7 separate regions of the Homo sapiens genome follow, and regions 2, 3, 4, 5, 6 and 7 are each linked to region 1. Evidence: promoter capture Hi-C in human tissues and cell types (Jung and others, 2019). All regions are on one chromosome and are shown on one strand. The core of a region is centred on a gene start or on the middle of the fragment in contact, and the rest is flanking DNA. Distances in the headings are between cores, read along the strand shown. Region 1 holds the start of ZNF521 (zinc finger protein 521). Region 2 has its middle 140 kb from the start of LINC01894. Region 3 has its middle 250 kb from the start of SS18. Region 4 has its middle 300 kb from the start of SS18. Region 5 has its middle 65 kb from the start of LINC01894. Region 6 overlaps LINC01894 (long intergenic non-protein coding RNA 1894). Region 7 has its middle 330 kb from the start of SS18.

The links. Contacts are between HindIII fragments. The study calls those that stand out against the background at their distance.
Region 2: a contact is called between a fragment that was not itself captured here and the fragment with the promoter of ZNF521 in region 1, in 1 of the 25 tissues and cell types used here (heart left ventricle).
Region 3: a contact is called between a fragment that was not itself captured here and the fragment with the promoter of ZNF521 in region 1, in 1 of the 25 tissues and cell types used here (IMR-90 fibroblasts).
Region 4: a fragment that was not itself captured here is called in contact with the fragment with the promoter of ZNF521 in region 1 in 1 of the 25 tissues and cell types used here (lymphoblastoid cells).
Region 5: a fragment that was not itself captured here is called in contact with the fragment with the promoter of ZNF521 in region 1 in 2 of the 25 tissues and cell types used here (dorsolateral prefrontal cortex and small bowel).
Region 6: a fragment that was not itself captured here is called in contact with the fragment with the promoter of ZNF521 in region 1 in 2 of the 25 tissues and cell types used here (H1 embryonic stem cells and mesendoderm cells).
Region 7: a fragment that was not itself captured here is called in contact with the fragment with the promoter of ZNF521 in region 1 in 1 of the 25 tissues and cell types used here (mesendoderm cells).

Annotation. Positions count from the first base shown.
Region 1 is chr18:25,350,116-25,353,780 of GRCh38, forward strand. ZNF521 (zinc finger protein 521) reads right to left here and starts at 2,051. Exons shown (of 8, transcript NM_015461.3): 1 at 1,890-2,051; 2 at 792-832. The coding sequence starts at 831. RefSeq lists a silencer at 2,077-2,146. The HindIII fragment of the contact is 6,455 bases long and covers 1-3,049 here.
Region 2 is chr18:24,841,229-24,844,893 of GRCh38, forward strand. No RefSeq gene overlaps it. Among named protein-coding and RNA genes, the nearest start is that of LINC01894, 140 kb to the right of the region's middle. The HindIII fragment of the contact is 3,586 bases long and covers 1-3,579 here.
Region 3 is chr18:25,841,300-25,844,964 of GRCh38, forward strand. No RefSeq gene overlaps it. Among named protein-coding and RNA genes, the nearest start is that of SS18, 250 kb to the right of the region's middle. The HindIII fragment of the contact is 5,651 bases long and covers 1-3,665 here.
Region 4 is chr18:25,791,228-25,794,892 of GRCh38, forward strand. No RefSeq gene overlaps it. Among named protein-coding and RNA genes, the nearest start is that of SS18, 300 kb to the right of the region's middle. The HindIII fragment of the contact is 4,204 bases long and covers 1-3,665 here.
Region 5 is chr18:24,921,532-24,925,196 of GRCh38, forward strand. No RefSeq gene overlaps it. Among named protein-coding and RNA genes, the nearest start is that of LINC01894, 65 kb to the right of the region's middle. RefSeq lists an enhancer at 2,369-3,054. The HindIII fragment of the contact is 5,508 bases long and covers 1-3,665 here.
Region 6 is chr18:24,946,072-24,949,736 of GRCh38, forward strand. The region is part of intron 1 of LINC01894 (long intergenic non-protein coding RNA 1894); the gene reads right to left. Among named protein-coding and RNA genes, the nearest start is that of LINC01894, 40 kb to the right of the region's middle. The HindIII fragment of the contact is 6,134 bases long and covers 1-3,665 here.
Region 7 is chr18:25,755,419-25,759,083 of GRCh38, forward strand. No RefSeq gene overlaps it. Among named protein-coding and RNA genes, the nearest start is that of SS18, 330 kb to the right of the region's middle. The HindIII fragment of the contact is 5,504 bases long and covers 1-3,665 here.

The DNA.
Region 1 (3,665 bases), core at 801-3,300:
CCCGCCCCCGCCGCAGCCAGCTAGTGCGCCCCCAAAATCCCGCACGCACGCCCCGCAACTTCCCTCTCCAACAGGGACGACGGAGAGCTGGACCCCACCGCGAAACGCAAAGGACTCCAGGGGCGGCGGGGAGAAGTAGGGGCGAGGGGCGGTCAACTTCTGGGAATGGCCAAGAGGGGTGCTCTGAGGCCCGAGCCGGGGTCCGGTGCCCGCGGCCGGCGGCCGGGGTCTGTTTACTCCGGCGACGTGCGGAGAGGACCCAAGCAGGACGCGGGCGGGCGGGAGGCGGCGGCCGGGACCCCGGGCCACGTTTGTCACGAGCGGGGGCTGCTCCCCACCTCCGAGATGACTTTTTTCTTCTTCCAAAGAAAAGGAAAAAAGAAGCACCGCACGGTTTTGCATATTTATTCTTTGCGAAAACACACAACAGAAACTTTTTCCTCCAGCCCAGATGTAGATCTCAGACGGGATATTTTTTTTTCCTCCCTCTCCGGATAATTTCGTTTCTTTCTCTCTCTCTCTCTTTTTTTTTTTCGGTTGTTGTTGTCTTTTCTCGCCCACTTTCTACCGCCGCCCCATTCGGGGATCCTCCTCCCGTCTTCGTCTCCCCCCACCCCGACACCTCACCCTCACTCCACCTAGGGGCTCAGCGGGGAGGGGAGCGCGCGCGCCCCCGCACTCACACTCACACTCACGCGCGCACACGCCTCGCAGCCACGCAGCCCTCGCTCCGCTACCCACAGTGACACTCGCGGATGGGGGAAAGCGGGGAGCAGGGGGTTCCTCCTTACCTTTGAGGGATCTCGGTTTCGCTTGCTTGCGGCGAGACATCCTAAAAGCAAACAGCTGAAGTTGTTTCAATTCAGCCCTGAAAGAAACTATACTTCCTCGTGGCCGCGCGCCCCTCGGGCCGCGGCGCCTCGCGCCCTCCGCTCGGCCTCCCTCGCGCCCTCGCTCCGCGCTCCGCTCCTCGCTCCGGCTCCGGCTCGCGCTCGCGCGCGGGGCTCGCGGCTGCCCGAGCTCCGCGCTCTGCACGACGGCGGCGGCGGCGGCGGCGGCTGCTGCACCAAACTTTCCCAGCCTTCGACCCCCACCCCCAATCTCCAAGAAAAAAAAAAAAAAAGGAAAAAGAAAAAAGGAAAGGAGGGAAAAAAAGCTAAAAAAAAAACCCCAAAGACAATGTTTGAAGAGCCGTCAGCTACACTAAAAAGAGAAAATCCGTTACTATTTCCACCTCAATCAAAATTCACATAGTTCATGCGAATAGAAAAAAACTAATAAAAAGAAAAGCGTCTGGGTGATTTTTTTTTTCTTTACCGCTTTTCCTTTTCAACAAATCCGCCCCCCCCCCCACCGGAAAAAAACAAATAACACTGATTTGTTTACAAAGCGAGTCGTGCTCTTTTGTAGTTGGGGGGACGAGGGGGGGAAATCGACCCTGCAAGGCGATGAAAAGGTCTTGGAAAGAAAAATCTCCCACCATCCGAGGCAGATGCGAACGGGCCACGAAAATAAGCAAAGGGAAAAAAATACTTTTTTTCTCCCTTCCCCCCACCCTTTTTTTCTTAACCCACACTAAAGTAATTTCTTTCAAAAAGAAAAAGCCAAAGCACCCGAGCCGACGGCCCCCAGGTGGTGTGCGGGGCTGCTTGTGTGCAGGGGGTGTGCGGGGCCCGGGCTCGGGGCGCCCCTCTCTGGGCGGGGGCGCGGCGCCGGCGGCTGGCGCTGGACCGGGGCTCTAAAGTCTACGGCTGCCTCGGCAGCGGCGGCGGCAGCAGCGGCGGCAGCGGCGGCGGCAGCGGCGGCGAGAGCAGGAGGAGGAGGAGGAGGAGAGCCGGGAGCAGGAGGAGGAGAAGGAGTGTGCTGTGTGCTCCCTCCTCATCACAAACCTGCAAGGTCTTGGACTGCGCTGTCGCTCCGGTAGTCCACATAATAATGGAAAATGGAAGCAAGGCCCCCAAAGCCATCAGGATGGCTCCAGAGGGGGCCCCTAACCCGCAGGGACTCGCTCTGTACGTAATCACTGAGGAAATCATTGTCAGCCTGCCTGCACTCACACACAGACAGAGGGGCATGATTAAAAGGCGAGAGCGCGGGGAGCGGGAGGGAGGAGGGGGCCCGCCAAGACCCGGACTGGAGGCGCCGGCCGCGGCGCGCGGATCCGGAGCCAGGCGGCGGCCGAGCGCCCCGAGCCCCGCCCGCCGCCGCCGCCGCCGCCGCCGCCTCCCACGCGCCGCGCGCCCCGCCCGCTCCTGCGCCGCCGCCCCTCGCGCCGCCCGCCCGGCCGCTCGCACACCCCGCGCCGCCGCCGTCGCCGCCGCCGCAGCTGCGTTATTAGAGCTCCACGGCGGATCTCGGGGCTCTTCTGCTCGCTTTTTTTCCTCTTCAGAAATTAAAGCAGAGGAGCATCTGAAAGTGGAAAGGTCCCCCTTCTGGTAGGATGGATGTAAAAGGAGGCAACAATTTGTTCTTGAGGGGGCAAAAAAAAAAAAAAAAAAAAAGAAAAAGAAAAAGAAAAAGAAAGGAGGGGGGAAATTCATTGCTTGGCTTTTGCATTGTCGGACTTTAAAAAAGTGTGTCTGCTGTTGTTGCCCGGACTCGGGAAATCTTTTTTATGGCAACCGCAGACCTGCCAAGTCTCTCTTACTTGGAATCTTTATAAAGGCAAGTTATTTGGACTTTTTTTTTATTTTCTCGTTTAGAGAAAGTCATTGATGCTGACGAATGTCATAATGTGATTCAAAAGAGACAGCTTTGAGTTCACTTTTTTAACATTCTCAAATTGACATAGATCTTTGTCCAGAAAATAAAGCTTTCTGTTGATTTTTTCTTTAAGCAAGAGGTAAGGAAATATGCACTTAAGAATATGTGTACAAGAAAATAGTTTCTAAAATAAATTGAAATGTCTGCAGGTCGGTGGGAATTTTTGTTTCTTTTCGCAGTTTTGTTTTCTAACTTTTCACCTGCTCCCATCGCAAAACAAGAAACCATCACCTGTTTCCTTCTTTTACCTTATCTTAAGGGAAAGGATGTTTTAGTATTATTATTGTTGTTGCTATTTATTGATTGGACACGCTTGTCAAGTTATAAATGCCTGAGAGGGCTACCAAGTAGAGCTTAGATTCACAAGTCTTGGTGGAAATTAAGAGATTCAGAATACGGTTAATTACACAAAACAGGCAGAATTTTGTACAAATACTATTGTTCTTAATCAGATTTTAAAAATTCTCCGTTCTGTAAAATTAAGGTACAGCTATCTATTAAGCCACCATGCAAAGACATCAAAGCTTTAAGGAAGTTGTATTTTTTCCAGTCTAACCTGTAAACTGCCTGGACCCTCATGTGGATAGCTGCAAATACAGTATGTTTTTTTTCAATATCTTCATTATAATTAAATGAGTTTTCAATCCATCTGCAGTAATTCCTAAAGTGAAATCATAGTTGTAGTCAAATTTAACTTTGCATGACTGTGAAATAAAGCAACTTTTGTTGCAGAATCTGTGTTGGTACATTAAGGATTCTAGATTTTATACATAACCTTATACATTCATTTTCACAGAAATCATTCAGAAAGGGAAAAATGTGTAAACACCAAGTTTTTACAAGACTTTCCTTTCGTGTGGTAGCCATATGTGTGCAGAATACTATGGTGCCATGTATGTGTG
Region 2 (3,665 bases), core at 537-3,036, 510 kb before region 1:
GACAACATATTGCTTTTTACAGGGAGTACCTCATAGGACCAGTGTTCCAAATGGTAAAATACACCCAGTGAATGGAGAGGTGTGTAGCAAGGATACCCTCTCCCTTCACAGGCAGATAGCTTTGTATCTACACTTAGCATCAGCAGGCTTCTCTCCACCCTGCCAAGCTTGCTGAGGACAGGGATGGGTTTTATTGCTCTTCGTTCTCCCTCCACACCAGAATAATTCCTGGTGTTCTATAGGTGCTCAGGAAAACACACATTTCATTAACCTGAATTAGTCCCTGAAGCCAGCTGTGCAGAATCCATATCTGTGGGAGCCCTGTGGCTGAGCACCCCATCTCTTCGCTCCCCTTCTCCCTGTGCATGGGCCTGGGTAAGAACCACAGCATTTCAGAGACATGAGGCATGGCCCTGTCTGAGAACTCCTACACTGCCCAGCACAATCCGTAGTAAAACACTGACCTGCAGAATAACTTTCCACTTCCTGCGTATCCCATCTTGAGACATTCCTTCCGAAGCTTTAGCTGAAGATTTCGTAACCGCCCTCCAGAGCAGTGGTTCTTTATTCTTTCGTCTCTCTCACACCCCCACCTTCTTTCTTGACTTTGATCTTCTCCTCGCTCACCTTATATTCCTTTATGCATCTATCTCTGGCCTTCTTCCTCATTTCCCTGAGGCAGTTGTAGTAAAGTGACATGAGTGCTCTACTCGGGGTCAGGAGGCTTCGGCTTTGCTCTGCCTCTTTCTTGTGCCTGCACCAGGAAGTTGTTCAGCTTCTTGAAGCCTTATTTTCTTCTCCCACTAAATGAGATGATCCATGTAGGTATTCAATGATACTTTCATTAGCTGTGGAGTTGTTGGGAGATTAAATAGGACAGTATTTGTGAAGCCTTGCAGATACAAAGCTCAAAGTACACATTAGGCATTATTATGACTTTCTATCTTTATTTTTTCTTCCGTGTTGTTTTCTCAAAGATCATTCTTAAGGATACTGGAAAGATATACAAAGAAAGGACAGGACAGAAATTAGAATGTTCACCAGGGGAAATGCTTAGATTCTTAGCGACAAACTCAGCTCATTGGAGGGCTGAGCCTGAGTGAGGCTCCTTCAGAAACTGGATGAAGCGATGCACATCTATTTATGCAGCATTTCTTTATACATTTATGAGCTTCCGAGTATAAATGTATATGTATTATGAACTTGATTCACATATTAAACTATTTAATATGAGAATATTTAATAATCTTGTGAGATGAGGAAGAGATATGAGAAAGGGAGGGAAAAGAGAGAAAGAAAGTGAGTCAGGAGAAATGAAAGAGGGTCATGGATGGTTGGTGCCCAAGCAAAAGAGGGAAAGGGAGAGAGAAAAGAGATGGGAGGGAGAGCCCCGGGCTCGGGGAGCAGCAGTGGCAGGATTGTCAGCCAGCTACTGAGAGAGAAGATCCTGGAGCTGGTAAGAAGCTGACTGAATATGTGTTGGACATGGCATGTGGCCTTTTATGAAACAGGTTGGATATTTAGAAAGTGAAGCTTTCAAAGTCTGTCTTTCTGGCCTTTGAGGTTCCTTTAGTTTCTGTCATTAAGGAGTCTCCTCTTGAGACGTGGCATACATATTTTTCCCCAACAAGGCCCTGGTTGAAGTGAAAGTAGATTGCCTTGAGGGGAAAGCACACTAGTTCAGTTCTTGCACTGCTATAAAGAAATACCCAAGACTGGGTAATTTATAAAGAACAGAGGTTTAATTGGCTCACAGTTCTGCAGATTGTACAGGAGGCATAGTGGCTTCTGCTGCTGGGGAGGCCTCAGGAAACTTACAACCATGGCGAAAGGCCAAGCAGAAGCAGGCACGTTTTACGTGGTTGGAGCAGGAGAAAGCAGGGAAGGTGCTGCCACACACTTTTAAACAACCAGGTCTCACAAGAACTCACTATCACAACAGCACCAAGAGGGATGGTGTTAAACCATGAAGAACCACCCCCATGATCCAATCACTTCCCATCAGGCCCCACCTCCAACAGTGGGGATTATAATTAGACATGAGGTTTGGTGGGGACACAGATCCAAACCACATCATCCATGATTACTTATTACTGTTATTTTAGGATAGCTCCCTTTCAAACAGGGGAGCAACACAGCTGGTGTTTAGGAGCTCAGACCCTGGAGCGTAGACTTCCTGTGAGTTCAAGGCCAGGCTCCATCATCACAAGTTGCCAGACTTGGGTGATTTACTCCACTTCTCAGGGTCTCATTTCCACCATATGTAAAGTCTCAAGTTTATGCCTCTCTGGTTTCACTTTTTTTTTTTTTTTTTTTTTGAGACAAAGTCTCACTCTGTCACCCAGGCTGGAGTGCAGTGGCACAATCTTGGCTCACTATAACCTCCGCCTCCCAGGTTCAAGTGATTCTCCTGCCTCAGCCTCCCAGCTGGGACTACAGGCACGCGCCACCATGCCTGGCTAATTTTTGTATTTTTTTTAGTAGAGATGGGGTTTCACCATATTGCCCAGGCTGGTCTCGAACTCCTGACCTTGTGATCTGCCCACTTCGGCCTCCCAAAGTGCTCAGATTACAGGCGTGAGCCACCACACCCAGCCTCATTTTTTTTTTTTTTTTTGAGACAGAGTCTCACTCTATCTCCCAGGCTGGAATGCAGTGGTATGAGCTCGACTCACTGCAAACTCTGCCTCTGGGATTCAAGTGATTCTTCTGCCTCAGCCTCCTGAGTAGCTGGGATTACAGAGGCAGACGACCATGCCCAGCTAATTTTTGTATTTTTAGTAGAGACAGGGTTTCACCATGTTGGCCAGGCTGGTCTTGAACTCCTGTCCTCAAGTGATCCACACCCCTCGGCTTCCCAAAGTGCTGGGATTACAGGCATGAGCCACCCTGCCCGGCCCTCTCTGGTTTCATTTTCGTAGTTGCCTGCCTCATTCTGCCAGTGCTTACAGGGCAGGAGATGACCATCCATTCTGGCTTCCCCATCAATGGTAAGAATGATGGCTTCAATGCTGTCTCATTTACCACTGTTGAAACCTCAAGGAGAAACACTTTTGACTTAAGGATTGAGAAAACCCAAAATGTCTTTAGCTATTAGGATGTTATTGATGACTCATTTGTAATATCTCTGGAGTCTGATTGAAAAGGATTTATTAAGCTATGTTGCATAATATAGTAGGATTCTACATTTAATAAGTATGTGCTCTCTGTGTGTGTGTGTATATATATATATATATACATATATATATATATTTCTATCTATTCACCTATCATCAATCTATTCATCCATCTCTTGTAATCTATTGTAATCTCATACTTATTTGTACGTTGTTGAATTAATGTCTATTTCACTTACCAGATGGGATACTTCAAGACTACAGGAGCCACATCTGTTTCATTCACTCTAAGTCAGCTCTGTTTGCAACAAGGCCAGGTGTAGTAGGTGCTCATAACACTGTGCTGAATGAATGAGTGATCCATGTAACCCTCTTACCCAGTCCCAGTCATTCTTCATTCCTTCATTCCTTGCTTACTCTTTCTTGTACTGCAATGGCTTTTTAATTTTTGATTTTTTAATTGAGATATGATTCACATACCATAAAATCCACTCATTTAAAGTGCACAATTCCGTGGCTTTTAGTATATGCACCCAGTGGTACAACCAT
Region 3 (3,665 bases), core at 688-3,187, 490 kb after region 1:
ACGTAACACAACAACCAAGGGGCTCAAGGTGTCTATAGACACCATCATTACTCTCAAGGTTTTTGCTATTTTTGCTCTACATTTTGTTACCCTTGGTAATGACTGTTGGCTCCAAGGTATTTACAGTCAAAAAACCTTCCTACTTTAGACAGAAACTTTACTCATGCTGTTTTAAAAGATCCCAAAGTGTGATATGTCTATCCAATAGTTGGAGGAAAGATAGAACTGAAGTTTGAGGCAAGTTAACTTTTTTCTGAAATAGGCCATCACCATTCAAGATAAATGTAAATTTATGATCTGATGGACACCCAAGCTTTTTATGCATGTACAGGCTCTTCCTGGTGTGTGCAGTCATGTCTCTTGTCCTTCACAGGGAGGTTTATAATGACCCTCATTTTCAGACTCAATTCCACCCCAATTCCTGAGCCAATTCTACCTAAAGCCAAAAGTCTATCCATTGTCTCAGGCCACCCTGAACACACAGGGCATCACCTTGAACTAGCGATAGGCCCAGATACAACTGCTGGGTTCACACCTTTCCTCCAAATTCCCTTGCTGTTCATTTATCATATCCAGTTCCTAGATTCCCAAACTCCTCAGGGTCAGCTTTCCCTGCCATCAACCCCATGCCCACCTCCCATGCGTACTCCCCAGGAGTCCCATCACTCTCACCAGTTACCTTCCTAGTTGCCCAGGCACAGACTGGACAATGGCCATCTCAACAATGGCTTAGGGAGACATGTGACCAATATCCACAAGGTCTCTCCAGGCCTTGAAATTGTGTCAACCCTCTAGAACCATCTAATGGCCCTAGAGAGGGGGAAACTCTGAAATAATTGAGATTAAATTCACTACCAGCACAAAGTGATAGAGGTTCTAATAGAATTGTATTTTAGAAAATAAAATAATTTTACATGCCTCTCTGAGTTTGGAGCTGCAGTCCATATCCCCACCATTTTGCCAGCATCCATCCTCCTGGGATGGGCCTGCTGCAGTCCCTGCTGGCTGGCATGATGCTGCCAATGGACAGAGCTCTCTGATGGTAAGTGACTCCCCACCTGACTCCAGTGGCTGAACAGCCGGCTTCAGCACCTCCTCCCTATGGTACAAACTGTACCAAAACACTTTCTCTGCCATTCCTTCCATCTTGGTAGGGACAACCCAACCCTCTTGCCACTTGATTTTCTCCTAAAAACCTAGTACACTCTTTCTTAACCAATGGGTCGTCTCCCCAGGAAAAAGCACACACCCATATACACAGGGAAACGTATTTTGGCCACAGGGATTCACTGACACATCAGAGGCCAGTGTATGAACTCCAGATTAAAAATCCCTGCCTTTGATACATACAGCTCAACACACACTCAGTTCATCTTGCTACCCAGAAAACAAGAAGCGACATGGACACCCACCCCAGGTCCAAGCCACTGATGGCAATTGTAGATGCTGCAAGGCAGCCATCTGGATTGACTGCCTCAAAGAATGACCCCTTCTGGGCATAATTCCAGAACACTCATGTGTAAAATTTATGGCTTTACTTAGAAACTAAATAATGCATGTCATTTTTAAAAGATACATCTTAATTATGCAATAATCCATTTAAAGTAGGTTTTAGTGGAAGGACTGGGGAGAGATTAGTCTACAATCCCAACTGGGAATAAATACCAGTAATAAATACCCCAACAATGGGAGCAGAGACCTTCCTGGCCCATCCTGTCACCTCCCAAGCCTTAGGGCAAAGCTGGGGAGAGAATACTCCAACATCAACCCACTGATTATGTCTTCTGTGGCCTGGACCAGAGATTCTAGAAAAACAGATGTGGAAATGAACAGTTAAGATATAGAAAATGGTTCCAATTTTAGCAGATACCATGAATAGCTAGCTGTACTTTCCTTACTCTTCCTTTTTCCTCATGAGGGTTCTGTGGCTAGAAACAAGGTATTGATGGGACTGAGATCGTAAGATTTTGCCTCCTTTCCTCTTTTGCTAGTAGTCCTATCCATGAGGGCCAAAGCTAAGACTAGGATGAGAATATATCATAAGTATTTTCACTTCTTTTTAAAATACATACACTCATGAAATCAATGTTTGGAAAGATTTTGTCTCCTAGAATAAATCACCCTTATTTTTTAAAGATCTCTAAGAAAGTTGACTCCCCAAGTTTTTAGCCAATATTTTATACCTGACAATCACACATTCAACCGTTATTAATATTTATTGTGTATATACTAGATGTCAAGTCCTATTCCAGATAGTACAGATATAACAAGGGCCTGCAGAGATCCTATGCAGTGAGCTGGCTAACGTTGACCAAGTGTAACATCTACAAGGAAAGAGAAGCGTGGTGTCCCCATAGGGGACCCAACCTAGGTAAGAAGTTCCTCCTCATGTCTAACTGAAATATGTCTTGTGTTATTCAAGTTCATTTTTTCTTCACACAAATAGAGATGAGAAAATCATTTCTTTTGTTAAAACCCTTATAAAATGGTTACATTCATGAAATCTTCTCTTTTTCTTCTCTTCTGTTGATTAAACAGCTCCACTTCTTTTAACATTTCCTCACAGGACATATTTCCTTGCCTTTAATAATAAGTTTCCTCTTATTGGGGCAGACCTTTACCATTTATAAGGCACTTTGTGGTTTACAGAGCACTTCCGCATCATTATCACACTTTGATCTTCACAACAACACTGCAAGGAAGGTGCTGCAGATATTTGCTGAGCGCCAAGTATGCCCAAACCACTATTCTAGGGCTGTGGGGGTGCCCGTGCCACTTTACACTTGTCCCCATTGAAATTTATCCCAGCTTTGTGGAGCCATTTTCTCAATGAGTCAAGGCCATTTTGAATTTTATTTCTGTCTTGCTGAGCAGCAACAACTTCACCTAATTTAGTGCCTGCTGCAAATTTCATGAGGATAATCTTAATTCCTTCATCCAGCCCATCAAAATAGCTATTGAGTAGGATAGATCCTAGCCCCAATACCTCTGAGATAGCACTCAATATGTCCCCCTAGATTGATAACTCCCCTTGGGGTGAAGCCTTCTATCCTCTAGCAGAAGTGTAGACAGAAATATACTTTAATAACATATCAAAGACAGTGCCTTAGTTAAGAAATCAAAATCTTTACTAAAATTGAGATAGATCCCATCAATCAATTCCACTGGTCTACATAGCCTCTCACAATCATGGGAGGAAATTAAATTGGTCTGGCACTATTTGCTCTTTACAGAGCTTTACTGATTGCTACTTAGTATTTTATGTCCTTTCAGGTGCTATTCAATTGATTATTTGGTGATTTATTTCAAGATCTTCCCAGGTATCGATGTTAAGCTCACAGTTCTGAAATTTTCAGGGTCATCCTGTCTTTCTCTCTCAAAGATGGGCACCTCGTTTACCCTTTTGCTATCCTTAGGGGATTTTCCAATCCTCTGTGATTTGGGGGAAACACTATCTAACAGTCCTAAGATGAAAGTTGAAAATTCATTCAGTATCCTACAGGGCAAGCCATCAGGTCCTGCTGACTTGAACATATTAGGTTTTTCTAAGTTTTCTAACTATGCAGTCCTTTTGACCTTCTGTCCTCCTATTACAATTGGGACTTATTCCAGGCAGCAATTTATAGTTGTTATTATCTTCCCCCCTGGGGGAGGGGAGTGAGGAT
Region 4 (3,665 bases), core at 725-3,224, 440 kb after region 1:
CATTACTGGGTATATACCCAAAGGATTATAAAACATGCTGCTATAAAGACACATGCACACATATGTTTATTGTGGCACTATTCACAATAGCAAAGACTTGGAACCAACCCAAATGTCCAACAATGATAGACTGGATTAAGAAAATGTGGCACATATACACCATGGAATACTATGCAGCCATAAAAAAGGATGAGTTCATGTCCTTTGTAGGGACATGGATGAAGCTGGAAACCATCATTCTCAGCAAACTATCGCAAGGACGAAAAACCAAACACCACATGTTCTCACTCATAGGTGGGAATTGCACAATGACAACACATGGACACAGGAAGGGGAACATCACACACCGGGGCCTGTTGTGGGGTGGGGGGAGGGGGGAGGGATAGCATTAGGAGATATACCTAATGTTAAATGATGAGTTAATGGGTGCAGCACACCAACATGGCACATGTATACATATGTAACAAACCTGCATGTTGTGCACATGTACCCTAAAACTTAAAGTATAATAAAAAAAGAAATAAAAAAAGATCCAAAGCAAATAAGGCAAAATGTTAACATTCGTTAAAGTTCCATTGTATGTAAGTAGGTGTTTGTTACATTACTTATTCTCGATGATTTTTTTTCTGTATGTTTGCAGTATTTCATAATAAAAAATAAAAAACAAGGTAGGAGGCAGGAATATAGCGAAAGGAAGGACTAAAAGAAGAGAGGATGGGGGAGCAAATCAGGTTAGACTTATCTAGAAACTGGGGGAAGGAAAACCAATACGAGAAGGTAAAACAAAAAGGACGTGCCAGACAACGAAGGTGAGCAGAAAATGGACAAAAGAAAGCCACCGCTGGCTAATGTCTGAGGGAATGAAGTCATGCCAATATCATTTCACCCTCTCTTCCACTGCTGATTCCACTAACTCAATGGCTCCCCAGGAGACAGGGCTGGTGGCAAGAGAATCCAGGGTTGCATTGATCCCACGAACATCACTTCTGCTCTCATTGCTCCCAGCAGCTGGATCTCTATTAGTGCGGAGCGCAGGGGGGCTGGGGAGAGGAAGCTTTATTTACCTGTCTCCACTTAGGCACAGTCTTGTCTGTGATTCCTGAAATCTAATGATGAGAAAGATATGTTAGCACTCCTAAGACTGCTTTTCCCTGCCATGGTAAATCGCTCCCTGAGCAACGTCAACTTTAGGAAACTATTGACCACTTAATTCTAGCAAGCAAAGCCATTTCTGCTTTCAGGAGAAATTGATGTGTATTTTGTTCATACAATATAAAGTGGAACTTACCATCTTTAGTCCCAAACATTCCCCATCTCTGTCTGTCCCTCTCCCCACTCAGGCACGGAAAGTGTGACGCCATCTTGGCCTCTCCTTCCTTACCCTCCACGATCAATAGTTATCACGTCCTCTCACCTGGGTCCCTACCAACTGCCTGCACAGTTGGTCTCCCTGCCTAAGGCTGCCCCCTTTAAAGAGAGTCCCCATTCCACCATCTGATAAAGGTTGTTATAGCCCAGCTCTGATTTTCTTACTCTTTGCTCAGGAAACACAAATGCTGCACCATTGTGTGAATGCGGAGCTCAAACTCTCCACTCCAGGATTGAAAGGAAGCCTGCTACGATCTGGTCCCTCATCTCCTGCAGCTGTTCTGCTCAGCTCATGCAATCATTAGGCACCCACACTGTCCCCACCAAATGGTCATCCTAAAACATTCCCTGCCATTTTCTACCCCTGAACATTTCCTTAAAATGTTCCCTCTGCTTTCTCTTTCCCCATCTCCACCTAGGGAAATCCAATCTAGCCTTCAGGAACCAGTTCGAATGCTGTCTACCCCAAGGCAGCTTCTCTAAAGCAAGCTCTACCCATCTCAGAACTGACATGTGCACCTCACTACTCTGTTAAAGATGCAGAGTATTGTTTCCAATTCATTCCTACCTTCCAGTCATATCTAGCACTGTCCCTTACACATAACAGGTGCTCAACAATACTCCAATGAATGCAAGTAAACATGCATTTATATATGTAATACCTATAACAACATGCATTTTTATAACAGATTTGATATAAACCTAACTTTAGCCCAAATGTTTGTTACCTAGTAGTTCCTCAATATGTAATTGTGAGAATTAGTGGATGACTGAGTAAACGAAGGGATGGATTTTCCTATACGCGCTTTGTAATTGAATGAGACCTCACAGGTCCACTGTACATCATTGTTGGTTGCTCTATGTTCTTTCCTGAAGATCCTTAGGAACACACTTCTAGGTTCTGAATGTAACAGATAAACATTAATTCAATTTAATATGGTTCTAAAGGGAAAATACAAATACAAGAACCTGTCTACATTATATAAATGCATTGCACTTTACATTGCAACGGACAATGTTAATCACATAATTTGATGTCCTTCTTCTTTTCATTGTTTACCGAACCCTCTTGTTTGAGTGATTCCTCTGCCTTTATTGAGAATACGCTATTGAGAGCAGCCCCTGATGAATACTAGCCCATTTAATTATTTTTTTAAAATAGCACTCAATCACCCTTCTTAGCACTAATAGCACCTTTCTCTACAAATGACTGCCACAGGTTATTAGGTCACATTTTCTTGAAATATTCTATCTTTCATTTATAACTTTTAAATTAACCCAAATATTTCTAACAGTGAGTATCTTGAACAGCAAAAGAAAAAAATGTATTGTTATGTTACTCAATTCATTGTTGAAAGGAATTGGGAAAGCTTGTGGGAGTGGAAATTGATCATGAAACTAACACATCCTCTGTGCCCTTCACAAACACCTCCTCCCAAAGGAGCCGTCACTATGCTGAGACTACCAGGGCCACCAGCACCCTCTTGCTTCTGCACATCTAACTGAGAAACGACCCTGCACAAATGGAACTCAATTTTTTACGTCAATCAACTGATATTACTTCCAATGTAATATTTTCACTCACACAGCATTAAATATATATATGCACTAAACCTTCAGTCAGCTTGAAAAGAAGCTAACAAAATTTCGCCATTTCAATAAGAGTGACTCAATTTAGGGGGCTTTGTTGTGTCTAGAGGCAAGATTTTTCTCTTGGGTTATTTCAATACCATGAGTGTCAATCAAAGAGCCACACTCTAAAGACCAAGAGAATATCAGATGAGATCCATCACCAGGCTGAATTTTGGCCTGTATTTGTAAATTATTTCCTCAGCTAGGTCATCAATCACAAAGTCATCTGCATGGAGAGGGTACTTCATTATTGTTCTATGGGGCTCCAATTAAGTGGGACATGACAAACAGTTATCACGTTGACAGCTCATCCAAGTATCAGCAATTACCACAACCCATGGCCATGAGAGGAGTGTGGGCCTCTCTGTTTCCCACTTAGGTGAAGGCTGACTGGAATGAAGTATTTCCTTCCAGCAGCCTTCTGAGCATCCGGCTTCTCACCAAGAAAGCGTCTCCTCATAAAACACTCATAGGCCCCCAATGCAATGTCTAGTGTACAATCATGAGTTTGCATCAATTTTAAATTCCTATACACATGCAGATTGACATTAGTGCAAAGACTTTCCATGCAAAAAAAGGGTAATTATGTGATTTTCTTCATTCCTAGAACTCTCAAGAAAACTTAAGCATTGCATCCGATTTTAGGTCCAAGCTCAGAATCGTAA
Region 5 (3,665 bases), core at 450-2,949, 430 kb before region 1:
GCCTTTATCATATCCATATTTGCCTTAGTTTTCTGCCTTAGTTCATCTCTCTTTTTCACACCTTGACTTCTACAATATGTTATGCACCATCTGTATTCTTTCACCTAATTCTTTGTGATTCCTTTCAACTCAGTTTTTATTTACTTCGTGAGGGCAGAAACAGTTACATTTATTTCTCCCTATTCCCTGAACCAGATGCACAGTCTCTAGCATAGGGAAGGTGTTTCTGAAAGTGTTTATTGAATTGAATTGCTGAATGTGGCCCTCTAATCATCACTTCTCATTTCGTGTGTGTGTGTGTGTGTCCTCTGGGATTCCTTAATAAAATGGGTCTTAAAAATTACCCTTTCCTAACTCACTGCGAACTCCGACATGCCTTTCTTGCAAGTGGTCAACTTCTTCAGCTCTGCTGGGGCCTCAAAATGTCCTCAGTTCCTGTGTGTGGGTCTCTTGTACTTTTCTTTCCGCCATAATTTTTCACTGAGAAATTGCCTCTTGTCTTTGCTCACAAGTGACCTGAGTGGCTTCTGGGCCAACCTTGTTTTCTCCTGTGCCTACCATGAGTATGAACTGTTGAGAGACTAAAATCCCAATCTGCTATGGCCACGGAGGGTTTTAACAGTGATTCACAGGAAATGCCATGGACTCTAAGCTTCTGCTCAATGAGGGATGCATCTTGAGCCTTGGTCCTTGCTAGAAGTTATTCTTCCCACAGAAGGAGCAATGGAGACCCATCTTCTCTACAGCATAGGCGGGCTACCAGACCATCCACAAAGTAGAGGGAAACGACTCTTTACTAATAATTAACTGGCTGCAGATATTTTAAAGTGAGAAGGACAAATGCTCTTTAGCAATAAATTAGCATAGTCCCTGTTCTTTTTTTAAATAAAAAAATCACATATACTCTCTAATTATTTTCTCCAAATAATAAGTGCCTTAATCAGCTGGAATCCAGCCAGAGAAACAGAGCTCATATCAGCTCGATGGGGGGAATTTTATATGGGGTACTGGTTATAAAGGTGTTGGAACAGTTAACAAAAACAAAAACAAACAAACACATAAAAAATGGCAGGAAGGCAAATCAGAGATTTACAACAACAGGAAACCTCTAGGACTCGAAGGTCTGAGTTGAGGCCGTGGTGTTTTCAGAACCCAGATGCTGTCTGATGGCAAGTGAGGTCACAGAGGGCAGGCCTGCACCAAGGATCTGGGACTGCAAGGGAGATAGAAATGCCACCTGAAGCAGAAAGAGAGGGAAGAAATACCTTGGATTTTCTTCCTCCCTCTCTAAATTACCAGGCTCAGAACCCAGAGCTTTGCAATGATTGCAATACAAACTTCCGTGGGCTAAAAACCACATGAAATGCATTTCAAGATGCTTAGAAGCACCTGGACAATTTGAGAAGAAAATAAATCCCAACCAAATCAGAACAAACCCTCTAGTATTATCCACAACCATCCATGAGGGTTTTTTTGTTTTGTTTCAATTTGTTTTTTAACCACTCTTTTAATGAGGAATAAATAGAACTTGATAACAGAACCCCAGTATAGATTCATGTATGATTTCTTGCAATAATTCTATTTCATGATTTGCCCCATATAGTTCTCATTTCATAAGCACAGTCATTTCAGTTAATTTTTTTATTGTCTTCATAAAGTCCAACATCCACAGATTCTTCCAGGTATTGTCACAGATAGATATTTGAGTACAAGGTTGTTCCTTGTTGACCAGTACAGAAATAATATTGGTGCCCAACTTAGGCAAATAGGTTGTGACCTTTCTGGCATTTATTTTTGACTAGAAAAGCCACACGTTACACAGCCATGAGCACATTTCTCAGTTCCTCTTATCTTTTAGTGCAGGTCACCTGTCTGACATTTCATTCCATTAAACAAAACAAATGGAGATTTTTTTTTTAATCTCTTGAAAAATCTTATCCAAACCTTCATCAAACTATGAGACATTAGAAAGTTCTTATTCTCCTAGAGAGTACCTTAGGTCTTCCTCCAGTTCCCCTTTCCTTCTCTTACTCTTTTCTCCTTTTCCTTGAACATACTTCTCTCTTCATAACCAAGTTCCTATCTCGGGCTCCAATTATCTTCTATATCTTGACTCTTACTGTTTTCCCTCCAGAAACTTCCTTTTCTTTTCACTAATTAATTAGAAGGGAGTGTCCCCCCTTATCACCCATACCAATCCTACTGATCAGGAATCCTCCCTCTTCCCATCCCTGGGATCTCTACCCTACAAAGTTCTTGAAACTTACTCTTTTTACAGCACAGAGGGAAAAATATCTTGTCATTTGCACTGTCAGAGAAAAAGCTCTTTTTAAGTTTTTTGAGAAATATTGACAAATCAACTTGTTCATCATGTTCAATATTTGGAATAAGCAACCTCCATGGCTTTGTTTCAATCCTCATTTCATTTCATGAAATGGAACCTGTTCTCTTTGCAGACTCCCATAGTAAGTATCTTCCCCAAAGTACAAATCACAACAGCAAATCCAGGTTAAAGCAAGCTCTGTGGCAATGTGGAGCCTCAGACCAGACCCCAGACTCCTCCAAACCCCAAAACTGGTAGCCAAGGAAGAGGAATGCCCATGATTTCAGGGGCAGGGACCCTCTGCGGAGATTTCTCAGTCTCCTGTCTTAATGAGTTTAACTCCAGAGATGGGCAGCTCCAGGCTCCCCGCTGAGCGTAATTACCGTGATGGGGCACCTGGGGAGAGATTGTCACAAAGATAACTGGGTCTCAGGCTATTTAGCGCTTTACAGATGAGAGTAAGGTGGTGACTTGGAAAAATGGGGTCTGGTTCGGATAGGAAGACTGCTATGGTTCATTTTCCTCCCTCCTGTGGAAGCATACACTGTTGTGTTTTTAATTGATGTACGTGAGCCCAGGGCACAAAATGGACTCACGTGAGAAATCACAGGATACCAAGACTGGATGGGACTGGAGGGGTCATCTCGTCTACCCTCAGCCTCAAGGCAGGACTGCTTACAAGCTATCTTGGAAGGAGGGCCGACTGCCCTTTTCATCACTCCCTCCGGAGGACTGAACACAGCAGATAACCAAGGGCTACCTGGGCACCAGTGCACACTGCAAAGGACTATTTGTCTGGGTTTATTCTGGCTCTCCTTGCTTAAAAGCCATAGTCAGGGTCAGGATCAGGTCCCCAACACGGGCAGCTTAGAGCAGCACACCGAAATGTCAAAAATTCACCGGACAGCATGAATATACTGAAGAATACACAAAGAAAATATATTGAATCATCTTGTGCAAATTCACACCTCACCGAGGTGCTGAATGAGGAGAATGATCTCTTAACCACTGTCAAACTCTTCCTGTGAGTGCAGCAGGATGGGATAGGATTTCTGCTTTCCCCTAAGAAAAAGTTCATGGAGGACCTAAAACAGGGATTGGTGGAAGGGGGATTGGACAGCTGGTCCTGAGGCATCTAGATGCTGACATCCAGGCTCCTGCAGAAAGGCAGCACCTAACCATGCAGGTCAGGAGGAGGTAGGGGGTTTGGGAACTGCAGTCCCATTCTGGTTTTAGGAACTCCCTTGCCTGTATTAATGTAATAACATGGAGAGAGGTTGTGTTTAGGGCCCGATGTAGGCGAGCCACAGGGTGCGGGCTCCAGGAACTGGCAGAGAGAACT
Region 6 (3,665 bases), core at 740-3,239, 400 kb before region 1:
ACTGCTCTCGTTGTTCATGACTCAGATGTTTTTTACATCCCCTTTCTGATTCTTATTGCTGGGTAGTTTTTTTTTTAATTAAAATATAACAAGCCAGATATTGTTTAACGATAACAGTTAATTCAGAAGAATTATTTTTTCTCTTTTTTAAACACTTTAATTCATTCCACCTACCTTTATATTGGGGTCCTCAGGGTTAATTAGGAGCAACTTTGTACTTGGATAGTTGGTTAATCACCAAGAAGAATGCTGGAAGAAAGCTACTCATATGCTTTTCATCTCAGCATCCAATTCCCAGGAAACCTGGAAAAAACCATTTTACTTGTCTAAGGCCACCTACAGTATTAGGTAATTATTAAAGCTGATTGCATATCAGAGCCTAAATACAGTGCTGCAGAACCGTGCTCCCCTCATGCTCCCCTCACGGCAAATGAATCAGAGACGCTGCCATGTATTTTTGAAGAGTAAATCTTTGTGCTAATTAATTATATTAATATCAACATGTTGATATTGATATAATTAGCACAGTGGATGACACTGATATAATTAGCACAAATATTTACTCTTCAAAAATAAGTGGCAGTGCATATGCATATAATAACGTTAATAATAATACTGAGCTGTTATAGCATCACTTTCTCTGAGGAGTTTACAAAATACATAAATAGTAAATAATTAAAACTCAAACTCCGTTGAGAGCTTTGATAGCATCATTGAGCAAAGTTGAAGGGGTTTATGCAGTCAGAGTAACCTCATAAATACATTCTGACAGGGGCATTTTTTGCCCGAACAGAAGTGACTCTCTAAGCAGCTATCAGTAGGCCTAAAACTAAGAGATATACCAAATTCTGTAACTGAATTGAAACTGAATAGGGCCCTGTCTCTTTCTTTACTCTGATTCATGTTCAACTAATCTAAAACCACAATTATTTTATTCTAACATGAAACAGAATTGGGTAAAAGCAAGGATGTTGGGATACAAGACAGAAAATATATTCAGGTGTCCTTGTCCGCAGCGTCTTTTACGTAGAAAGACCATGGTCTTGCTAAATCTATCCAGAGGCCATCTCTCTTTTGTTTGAAAATGTAGACTCCACACCTCATCACATAATTATATGTGGTACCATGAGAAGAGAGGTGGCATGGTGCCTAATGGTTCCATTGGCACTCTGCTGTCAGGAGCGATGAGAACCAACTTTCCCACTGTGTTTGTGATGGGAGATATTAATCTCAACCAATTTCTTATTTCTTTATTTCTGAGAACAGGCTAATTGAGTTTCACATTCTCTTACCATTACAAGTATATTTACTGCCACCAGCACAGCATATATGCACAGAAACACACACATACATATCTGCACATGCAAACAGATAAACATCACACACAAAACAAAACATAACTGTGAGTTCCAATGAACCCATTGATAAGCATGAAAGATACAGGCCAGGAGACTTTTAAAATATGTCGCATTTACAGAACATTGTGCTTACTGGCAAACATCGGAAAAGTAAAATTGGCTTCATGGACTGACAGAAAGAGACATTAGTTATTTTAACCCTCTTTTCCTCTAAGCACTAACTTCTATAATAGAGCATCCCAGATGTTTTGCTTCTTAGTGCCTCTTTGGATGTGAAGATTGCACAGCAGGAGGCAACATCTGGGGGAGAAAGGAGAGATTGTGTAAGAGACTTAGGATATTGGTGCGCACCCGGTTGTGATTCTTGGATATGTTTCAGAGAATTTTTTAAAAAGGCAGCCTCCATTGTAATTATCATTTATAATTAATTTCTGGGTGCAATAGCAGAAGAGTATTTCAATATTCCAGTTTTCTAGAGAAAAAGGATTTTTCTTGCATTTATGCAGATTTAGAATTTCAGCTGCAAATTGACCTCCTTACCACAAACCATATTGTTTTGCAACCTCTTAATACATAAAACTGTTTTGGTCCTTCAGTGAAAGATGTCATTTTTACCATAATGAGAAAAACTGGAAAGTCTCAGCATCTCATGAACGTCATTGCTCAGACAGTGCTTGGTTCAGGGAGGGTTTGAGGTTCAATCCTGATGCTTATGATTGTCTCATTTCACTCTGACATCATAATTGAGACTAATCTCCACTGATTTTTTTCCCTTACGTTCGTTCTTGCTTTCAAGTTTAATCATCCACTACAATTCGGACATAACAGCAGTGGAATGGGTGTTTTCTGAAAAACACACATTGGAATCATTTTGCATTGTAGCTTCAGTTCATGATGTTTTGCTAAGCAGGTATCCAAAGGCACACACTGAAATCATTTTGCCAGCATACTCTTGCCTTTTAATAGCTTCCTAACAGGGTATCTGAAGAAACACTCTTGAAACATTTTGCCCTCCTAATTTTATGTTGTAATGACATCAAAATGTCATAAAGCAATTACCGTCCCAAGCACAATGATCTTTAGAAGTTACTTTCTCTATAGGCTCATTAACTCCTTTCTAGCTTTAATATCTTGATTGTTTAAAAAAATGTTTAATACTAATTGAGAGGCTTCATTTAGAACTGAATACCATTTATTTAGCACCATCTCTCTCTTTCTCTCTCTGTCTGTCTGTCTCTCTCTCTCTCCCCTCTCTCAACCAAATTGGACTAAGCTGACAGAACCCTATATTTATAGATACACACACACCTTCTGACTGCTCCAGTTAAGATTCAAAGTGGAACTGATCTGGTACAAAGCAAAAATCAGCCTAGTGGATTGCTTTGGAGTCAAAGGAAACAGTAGATAGTGGCTGTGTCCTTGGCAGTGAGCACATCCCAAAGTTTCTGCACTGCCTGAAAAACGTGAGGCTGGGTACTCATTATGGGGTCTGGAAGAAATGTGAGATGCTTAACTGGAGAAGTTCTACGTGGCAACACGACCATCTGATTCCAACCACACTTAGTTCTAATGACTGAGATCCACCAGGTATATTTCTCCAAATAAAAATGCTAAATCAAGGGAACAAACAATGATGCACTGGATTCAGTTATTCTGTGATGTAGGCTGTGATTTGCAGCTATACCCTCCTGAAACATCTGTAGGAAGAGTTAAAGCTTAAGTTTTCCTCTGGGCCATTTGAAATAAGTAAAGAATAGCCACCAACCTCTATCACCTTTTCTAATATAAACATTAAAACAAATGTGCTTGTCTCACATGTGCCAGATAATATTCATAACTTAACCTTTAACTGTCTGAGCACATTCTTATCTGGATAATGGAAGGGTTGGAAATGAGCTCAACAAATTTGCACAACACAATGCCAAGGATGTAATGGCCTCTCTACTCCAATCAAGAGATAAGATGGTCTCTGACTTTTTCTATAGACTCTCTGTCCATGACTAAACAACATAGCTCTGTTCTTGCCAAATATTTTTTTTTCTGTTTTAAGCATCCTCAAAGGTGACCCATAGAGTTCTAGCAACCAGTTTGATCATAGAAAAGAGGCAGAATGATTGGTTCAGATGTCTGAAAGTAAAGCTAAAACTGGGAGGAGCTACTTGGTTAATAATAAATAACAAGAAAGATAGATGAATAAAAATAAACATCTTAATGATTTACCATTGCTATGAAACCAATAGGCTGGTAATCCAATCCGATATCTGCAAATTTGTATAATCCTCAGGGCAAAACAATTTAATGGGCTGT
Region 7 (3,665 bases), core at 388-2,887, 400 kb after region 1:
TACATTTTGGCTCTACTTTCCTCGGTGCTTGCTTCATTTTCAGGCAGTTTCTCCCAAGTGAGGTCAATTATGGCATTAGCATCTCCAGGCTTATGTTCTACCAGCTCAACAATCATAATGAAAAGAATGGCCCTCTTGCCCAAGAGTTCTGGTCAAACTCTTAGGTTGAGGCTTATTGCCCTGACTTGAGACATGTGCCCATCACTAATTCAATCACAGTGATTTAATGCTTTAAATCACTTCACTTGTCCAAGCTTGAGGTGGTGTGTCCTCTCATAGCCCAAAGTCTAAGAACAGGGAGAGAGTTTTCTCCAAAAGATTCTACACAGGCAAAATATAATGAACAAGTACACCAAAAATAATAGGCTAAGATAATCATTTAAAAGAAAAACAAGATTAAATAATAAAAGTACTGAGCTTGATTTAAAACAATCAATTTTATAAATTAAAGATGAGAATGGACCACATTTGTCAACAAACCATGTGAAAAATATTAGAAGTTGTGTTAGACAATAAGCTCATTATGAACCAACAATGTGTTACAGAAACTGGAAGAACTAATTTAATTTTAGGTTGCCTTAATAGAAAAATCATAACCCAATTATGGGATGTTATGGTCCCACTGTTTTCTTCATCGGTCAGATCATAGCTGAATGTTACATTCTAGAAGAATATTCACAAAGTCCAGTGCATCCAGAGGAGGCTGACAAGGATAAAGACCTAAAGCATCAGCTAGAGGAAGACCTGAGGAAGTTGGGGAGTTCCATCTTGGAAAAGAGATCACTAAATTATAGCAATGTTTAAATATTTGAAATGTAATCCTATGGCTATAAGACTGACTTCCTCTCTGCTACTTCAGTGGGAAGAGCTAGTACCTTTAGAGAAATGAAAGGGAAATGGATTTGGATTGGTTTAACAAGTAATACTGTCCAGCAAAATAATTGGCTCCCCTGAGATACAGCGAGCTTCTCGCAAATGTAATTATTAGGAATGCCATAGGATTATGTTGGTCACTAGTCAACTCCTGATCTATCTCTCCCAACTCTTAAAGCTATAGTCAAGGGATTACATGAGTATCTTCCCCATTATGGGCAAGTTAACAGGAAATTCAGCCCCTTTCTATATTTTCAGTAGTGAGTGAAAGACTCAGAGCTTTTGAATCTGCTGCACGAATATTACTAAAACCTCTCGCCACCCACGGACTGGAAGAAGTTCAGCACTATGTGGGAGAAAACTCCATGTGGAAAAACCTTGGAAGACAAGACACCAAGGAAATTGAGGGTTTGGGCAAATGTCTGTCTCACCTGGCACCCTCATGCATTGGTCCAAACTCAGTGTGTGTTCTAAGTTAATTAAAACATCACTACCTGATAATTATTTTTATATCTACTTCTTCAGGGAAATGGTTCAAAATTCTATTAAAGATGTTTTAATCATCCCTTGATTTCATTACCCATGTTATTTTATAACATAGATATTGTAAAAAAAAAAAAAAGTAATAAAGTAGCAAGTACATTGCAAAAATGTAGTAAAACATCTGAAAGTGTTTAATAAATGTCAAACAGTGTATACATGTAAGGAGTTATTGTAATTATTATTCATTCCATCATGGCATAGATAACTTAGAATTGGCTATATTAAAATTTTCTTTAGAAAAATATGAGAATTCACTAAATCCTCAGAAGACATAAAATAAGCAGGTAAAAGATATCAAATTTCTTTGAATTGAGAACTACAGTAGTTCCAGCCTAAGGAGATGTTACATTGATAGTGCATACTTAAATATCACTGAATTGCCATGAGGAGAAAATGAAATTTTGCGAAAAGTGCTTTCTGAGATGTTGTATAATTCCAAAGTCAAAATGTTATCATTATTCTGTTCTCATTATTAACTATGTTTTTATTATTATACTACAAGGAATTGGCTTCAGGAATATAGATATCTGGACTAAACCAACTCTACTTGATAATTAATACCAGAATTCTGGCACCCAGAGTGGGCAAAATCAGGTACAAGTTTTCTTACATGTGGATGGTTCAAATACATTAAATCAGTCCCTGGTAGATTTCATTTTTAATTACTATCAGAGGACATAATGTCAAACATAGGGACTTTGTGGTCACTCTGTATATCACAGATTGCTCTTATAATAGTCCTTATGTTAGCAAAATTGCATGGTAAAAGCACTAGATCAATAATAAAAGTATGTTGAAGACCTATATTAAGACTATATGCTTAAAAGAAATCATTGAAACCATTTTGATTCTCCATTACCATAATTCCCAAAGACCAATAAGTAGGATTCGTAAAGCCTAAATATTCTGTAAATGTATGAGAGCTGCTTTTTTAACAAGCTGAATCTCATCGTCTGGGATGGGGGATAATAAGAACTCATGAGACTGGAACTTCTCATTTCACAAATGAGAAAACAGGGGTTCGTGGCAAATAAATGCCTTATGTATCATCCATTTTGAAGTCCAATCTCAACAACAAGAGACTTCAACAAGAGACTGGCATCTGTAGTATTTCTTATGAGAATTTTACATATTCTTATGGTAAAATATGACCACATATTTAATAAAACCCAATATGTCCATAATCCTTTTCCTTCATGGTCATTATCCCTACCAAATAAATATTATTAAACATGTGTAAGGAGGCCAGGTTTAAATTGGATGTTGTACTTGAAGGTCTATGATTCATTTCTGGTAATAACCAAGATTATAATCAGAAAGGAATAAAAATATTGCCCAACATATCTAAATACACAAATATGTAGGAAACTAGAACTGCACTACTTTACATGCACAAGGTCTGTAAAGAAACATGTTCATACGTGTATAGCTGTGAAAAATGGGAAAGATTTGTTAAAAAAAAAAAAGATTAACAGGAAATATTGACCTTGTTTCCACTTGGGGTCAAAAAAATGCAAAGAGATTCTTTCATATATTTTATTTCCCTGAGGAAAGTATGTTAGTTTAAAAAAATCTTTGAGCAATGAAATCTCTCTAGTTTCCAGTGGTGCTTTCTTTTTCTAGTACTATTTTACCTCAGAATTACTTTTGCCTTGTTGAAAGCAAAAAGGCAAAATTTGGCAAACTTTAACCCAGTCAAAATGGATGTTAATTGCAGTGTTATAACACTAACTTGCGCATCCTTACTCAACCATAGGAAACTCATTATGTCCCCATTTAACGTTCTGAAAACATTTTTAGACCATTTGTAGGTTCAAATGGAAATAAATATGACTGTAAGTGTAGAATTGTCATTTTAATCAAATTGAATTTTCCAATTAGAGAAAGAAGTCTTACTAAGATTACCCATAATTCATATTCATAGAAGACTTCAGTTTGGGTTGTAGAACTCTGAAAGACCATTTCAAACAAGAAATTTGGATTCTTAGAGTGATGTATTTATCAGCATATGTTATTGGTGACTTTTTAAGCACTAAAATACTTTTTATAATAATGTATTAATGATCCATAGTATAAATCTTTTAAGATACTGGCTGATTTAGAGTTCAAAGGTTAAATTTTGAAAATGATGAGAAACTGGACAAATGTATTTCCAAACAGCATCATCACTTTAACAGGAACAAAGAGTTGAAATTTTGCTTTTCATAATAAATAAAAATCCTTATACTCTTTTAGTGCTATTGTCTAAA